Linked DNA regions of Homo sapiens: region 2 is linked to region 1. Evidence: promoter capture Hi-C in 16 types of primary human blood cells and fetal thymus (Javierre and others, 2016). All regions are on one chromosome and are shown on one strand. Each heading gives the region's core, a stretch centred on a gene start or on the middle of the fragment in contact. The rest is flanking DNA. Distances are from core to core; before and after follow the strand shown.

The links. The method cuts DNA at HindIII sites, captures the fragments that hold promoters and counts their contacts. A CHiCAGO score of 5 or more calls a contact.
Region 2: a contact is called between a fragment that was not itself captured here and the fragment with the promoter of EIF2B4 in region 1, in 1 of 17 cell types (fetal thymus). The highest score is 6.0, in fetal thymus.

What each region holds. Positions count from the first base shown.
Region 1 is chr2:27,369,008-27,371,707 of GRCh38, reverse strand. EIF2B4 (eukaryotic translation initiation factor 2B subunit delta) reads left to right here and starts at 1,370. Exons shown (of 13, transcript NM_001034116.2): 1 at 1,370-1,424; 2 at 1,789-1,832; 3 at 2,159-2,294; 4 at 2,496-2,700. The coding sequence starts at 1,394. It overlaps SNX17 (sorting nexin 17), which reads right to left and starts at 1,092. Exons shown (of 15, transcript NM_014748.4): 1 at 902-1,092; 2 at 365-439. The coding sequence starts at 964. RefSeq lists enhancers at 710-799, 1,020-1,079, 201-1,162, 1,100-1,189, 1,410-1,689 and 1 more. The HindIII fragment of the contact is 1,836 bases long and covers 192-2,027 here.
Region 2 is chr2:25,877,850-25,880,549 of GRCh38, reverse strand. ASXL2 (ASXL transcriptional regulator 2) reads left to right here and starts at 2,063. Exons shown (of 13, transcript NM_018263.6): 1 at 2,063-2,384. The coding sequence starts at 2,328. RefSeq lists a silencer at 1,884-2,043. The HindIII fragment of the contact is 1,072 bases long and covers 728-1,799 here.

The DNA.
Region 1 (2,700 bases), core at 121-2,620:
ATAAGCAGGGAAAAGAATTTCAAGTTGCCGCTCAGATGACAGAAGGAATGTGCTTTGACAGCCTGGGTGGAGGTAGTGGGGGGAGGGGTTGGTTTGTCCATGCAGGGGTAAAGGCTACTAGAGCAGTAAGACTGGACAGAAAACCAGAATATAAGAACAGGAAGGAGCAGTTGTTGCGCGGACATTAAGCTTCTTAGGGAGTTCCCGGAAATGTCAGACAAGATAAACCAGGGCCCTACCCTGTGGCAGTGATTAAAGGGGAACTACAGCCTACGGGAACAAGAAGAGCGGGTAAAGGGAGACACTGATGTCCACGTGTAGGGAAGGGCTTGAAGCTGTCTCAAGGCAGGGGTGCTAGTCCCACCTGCTCGTGCAGCCCCAGGAGCTGGCTGTAGCGCACCCGACAGTGCAGGACTCCATTCACGTGAATGTTATAGGCCTGAGGACACAAAAGTAGTCAAGCATTTTAGGGTTGCGGTCTGCGCAACCCCCCTGAGAACCCTGGCCGGAAGTTGCCTGGCAACTCGCCGGAGTAACGCGCTAATCTCCCGAGGGATAGTTCGCTTGTTTTCGCCAGGGCCAAGTCCCAAAGCTGAAGAGCCAGTCCGGGGGAAATTCGGACGCTTGTGTTGCAGTCTCACTGCCCAAGAGGCCAGTGACGCCCACCAGGGCAGCTGCGGCCTAGCTCGGGGAAGCGACCCGGCCTAAGGGCCTACAGGAGCTCGGGCGACCACTGCACGAATCACACACATGAGATAAGCTCCCAGAGAGGCCGTCGGGAGTCGGCGGCCCAGGACCAGGCCCGAAGGGTGGCGGTCAGGCCTCAGAGGCCGCTCCGAGATGGCTCGGGCCCGTTATCCCCGCCCCTGCCCGGCCCGGCTCGGCTCCGGCCGCTCCTCACCACGTAGGCGGAGCCGCCGCTGTCCCCGCTGCGGGACTCGGTTTCGGGAATGGAAAAGTGCATGTTCCCTACGGCACGGCACGGCCGGGCTCCGGACTGTGAGGGCCGCAGCGGCTCTGCACGCTCCCCCTCCGCTGCTCAGCGAGTCCCCGCAGCCTCACTCGCCATTTTGGGAGCCCTGCGATCCGATGTGGGAAGGCGGTGGGACGTCGGTTCTGGGACGCAATCGCCTGGGCATGCTGGGAACTGTAGTCTAAAGGGCAAGAGCCACCTGTCCGGATAGGGAGCCCAAAGTGGAGTTGGCCCTCATTGCAACCCGTAGTGCGGGGCGGGGCCTCGGGGCCCGTCGGAAATTGTAGTCCGATTGGGGCTGCGCGCTTCGCTTCTGCGGCTCAGCCTCCAGCCCAGGTGGCGCTGTGGACCCTGCAGCCGCGGAGCGAGGCAGCGGGGCGGCTCCGTGACCACGGCGGGCGGAGCCTAGGACTGAGGGCGATGGCTGCTGTGGCCGTGGCTGTTCGCGAGGGTGAGTGAAGAGCCGGGCCTGCCTACTGGTACGCGGAGCCGACGAGCTCCGGACAGCTAGTGCCGGGCCTTGAGCGCCTTTGGGCCCCGCCGCTCCGTTCCAGCGCCACGCTGGGCTCCGGTCTACACAGTCTCGAGCGCAGTCCCGCGCCGCGCACCGGCTGGTTGCTGTGAGGAGGGTCGGTGACCCCTCCATTCCTTTGATCCGCCGCGCAGTGCGTCCCCACGCGGATCCCTGGCTCGCCTCGCGCCTGCCGGCGGATCCGTGGTCATGCCAACCCAGCAGCCGGCTGCGCCGAGTACTCGTGCCCCCAAACCCTCCCGGAGTCTCTCTGGCTCACTTTGTGCCCTGTTTTCTGATGCAGACTCGGGATCCGGGATGAAGGCGGAGCTTCCCCCTGGGCCTGGGGTAAGTGAGGCTTCCCTCCCAAGCCGCCTGCCAAGCGCTACGCAGGAGGCTGTGCCAGCTTTATTCCGCCCCAGCTCCCATCCCGTGTCGGTTTATTTCTCAGTAAAGCCAGGAGATTTTACAGAGGTCTTGCAACCCTAGGGATATATGATTCTGTCCCTGGAGGAGAAACGTCAGCCTCTGTGGATGTAAGCTTGCAACAGGTAGCTTGTGGAAGTTAGGAAGAACTAGGGATTTAACCATGTGGAAATCTTGTAAGCATCCAATAGTATTTGTTCCCCTTTGGAATTGTTGGGGAAGAGCAGTATCCTATGTCTGTGTCTCAGGCAGTGGGGAGGGAAATGACCAAAGAAGAAAAGCTGCAGCTTCGGAAGGAAAAGAAACAGCAGAAGAAGAAACGGAAGGAAGAAAAGGGGGCAGAACCAGAGACTGGCTCTGCTGTATCTGCAGCCCAATGTCAAGGTGAGTGAGGGGTCTCTTTTAAAGGGCTGGGGTGTGGAGCTGGTAGAGGGATGTGGTGGGAGAGATAAGGGAGAGACAGGACAAAGTTGATTTGAGCAAGTGTGTAAAGCAAAGAGGTTTACAAGGAGAGAAGCTAGTTTTAGCTGGGGCACGGATATCACCTGCCTGCAGCTTGGGCATTTTTTTTTTTAATGCTTTTAGTAGGCCCAACCAGAGAACTGCCAGAATCGGGCATTCAGTTGGGCACTCCTCGGGAGAAAGTTCCAGCTGGTCGGAGTAAGGCCGAACTTCGGGCTGAGCGTCGAGCCAAGCAGGAGGCCGAGCGGGCCCTGAAACAGGCAAGAAAAGGGGAACAAGGAGGACCACCTCCTAAGGCCAGCCCCAGCACAGCTGGAGAAACCCCCTC
Region 2 (2,700 bases), core at 14-2,513, 1.5 Mb after region 1:
GGGCTTGAGTAGGGTGAGAAAAGAAACAGACTATCTAAGGAAATCCAGAAGGAGGGTGGGGATGATGAGAGAGATGCAAATACACATAACAAATTCAATCAATAGACATGGGGACAAAATACTTTTTGGGGAATTATACTTTTATAATAATAATAAACTATCTGTATCTGTGGAAGATTAAGAAGTAGGAACCACAACATCACAATCCCTACCCTTGAAATTCAAACCTGGGGATAGAGCTCCAGAAATGCAAAGTAAGGACCCTAGTAAGGTCTGAAAACCAGTTGGGGCTCCAGGACCAAACAACAGGACTGGATGATAAGCTGTACTCAGCTCAACAGCCAGGGATGGAGAAGACCTTTTTTTCTCTTCTCTCTTTCTCTTTCTTTCTCTCTGTCTCTCTTTCTTTTTTGAGACAGAGTCTTGCTCTGTTGCCCAGGCTGGAGTGTAATGGCGCGATCTCTGGGCTCACTGCAACCTCTGCCTCCCAGGTTCAAGCGATTCTCCTGCCTCAGCCTCCCAAGTAGCTGGGATTACAGGCGCATGCCACCAGGCCCAGCTAATTTTTGTATTTTTAGTAGAGATGGGGTTTCTCCATGTTGGCCAGGCTTGTCTTGAACTCTTGGCCTCAAGTGATCTGACCACCTCAGCCTCCCAAAATGCTGGGATTACAGGCGTGAGCCACCGCACCTGGCGAGAAGGCCTTCTTAGACTACAGACATAAGCTTTGGAGGGAGGTGGTACATACTACCTGTGTAATGCATAAGGCTATGAATTACCAAAGACATTTGGGAAAATATATCCATATCAATTGCTGAAATAGGCTGTTTGATCCATGACTGAACGGAAATATAAGGAAGTATCTAGATACTTCTAGATGGCCTCTCAAACTCCCTTTAATATCTTTTTCTCTTTTTTTTTTGCACAACAGATCCTTTTTGAAAAATGGAGGAAAAGTTATGAATCCTCTTAAAAAATTCACATATAACACACAAAATATAGTTCATAATTTTAGGGAGTCCATGAATTTCTGAAACGCATCCATAAACTTTAAGTATTGCTCTCACCTGTCTTTCCTCCCAAGAGGCAATCCAATCCTCAGTCCTATTTCACACTATAGTAAGTTTACTGGATTGTTTGGAAGCAGCTTCTGGAAGCAGGTGGATTTGGGAGATCAGCAGTTGTTACTACATTCTTCTTACTTTGCAAGGTATCAAGGTGTAGATGATGTAAGAGAAGATGCCACATTCTGGATCTTTCAGAAAGCTGTTACGGATACTACAAATAATGGTCTCTGACCACAGAAATAGGTGAATCATTCAGCAAATATTTACTGGGCGCCTGATATGTACAGGCACTATGCTAGGGACTGAGCTCACCGAAATAAAGAAGACACCATTTCTGTCATTGATGAGTAGCTTCACATGTAAAAGCATGGATGCAGTTACTGGTGGCCTTAAAAACAAAGTCACCTAAGTTTGAGGCATTCTGGGGAGATGGAAAGGGCTCTGAGCTGGCAATTTGATTTTTGGTTTCTCTACATCCCAGACTTATGAGCTTGGCAAGTCACTCAATCTCAGTTGCTTCGCCTATCGAATGGGGTTAATAGGCAGACGAGAATTGTTGCCTATCTTCAAAAAGATAACCTCTGTAAAAATGCAAATAAATGAGAAAACACAAACGCAGGGCTGATCTAAAGTGATAGTTGGCAGAGCCACCCACTGAGGGAAGAGTTCAGCTCCCCAGGTCTACACAGCCTGTGCAGCGCCTCGCAAGAGGCGGGATCCGCTCAGTAAGCTTTCCCGGATGGCACAGGTTCCGCTTCCGCAGGCAGATATTCGCTGTAGGTGTGAGCGCCAGGCGTCAGACTACAGCTACTGCCGGGGCCTCCTTGGCGCGCATGCTCCTGCGGAGAGGCGGAGACCGGAAGGGCGGGGGCGTGGCGAGGTACCGCAGACCGCCGGCTCGATAGCTCAGCGGCCGGGCTTGGGAGGCGGGGGCGCGCCCGCGCTCGTTCGCGCGGCCGGCTGCGTACAGTAGTGACGGCCGCGCGGGAGCGGTCACATGACCGTAGCGGCAGCCTGTACAGTAAGAACCCAATATGGCAGCGGCGGTAGCAGTGGCAACGGCAGCAAGAGGACCGGCCGCCCCATAGACCCCCCCGCGCACCACCCCCGCCGCTTCCTCTGCTTGGGTGCCCCCCCGGTCTGACTTCCCTTTTCTCCCACCTTTCCCGGCACCGCGGGAAAAGCAGCGCAGGGCAGAGCAGGCAGGGAGGGCGGCCGGAGCCCGGACACGGGAGCCTCCCAGTCAGTTCAAGACCCGACATGAGGGAAAAGGGACGTAGGAAGAAGGGCAGGACCTGGGCGGAGGCCGCCAAGACGGTAAGGGGGAGGGAGCGAAGGGGAAGGCCGGGAGGATTTTGTTCCCTTGTCGCCCGCCAGTCGCAGGGAAAGGGAGGTCACTGGCCCAGGGACCCGGCTGAAGGGGCACAAAACCGCGCGGAGAGGGCGGCGGTTAGTGTCGGGGTTGCGATCCCTGTGGGAATGGAGGCGCCCGGCGGAACGTGATAGCCGCGGGGCCGTGGCGTCCCTCGGCGTCTGCGGCGAGTCCTCTCAGTGTTTTGAGGCTGTCTTTTGGGGTCGAGCCGATATCACCTCCGCTCTGTGGTAGCCCTCGCCCCGGCACGGGGAAGTCTGT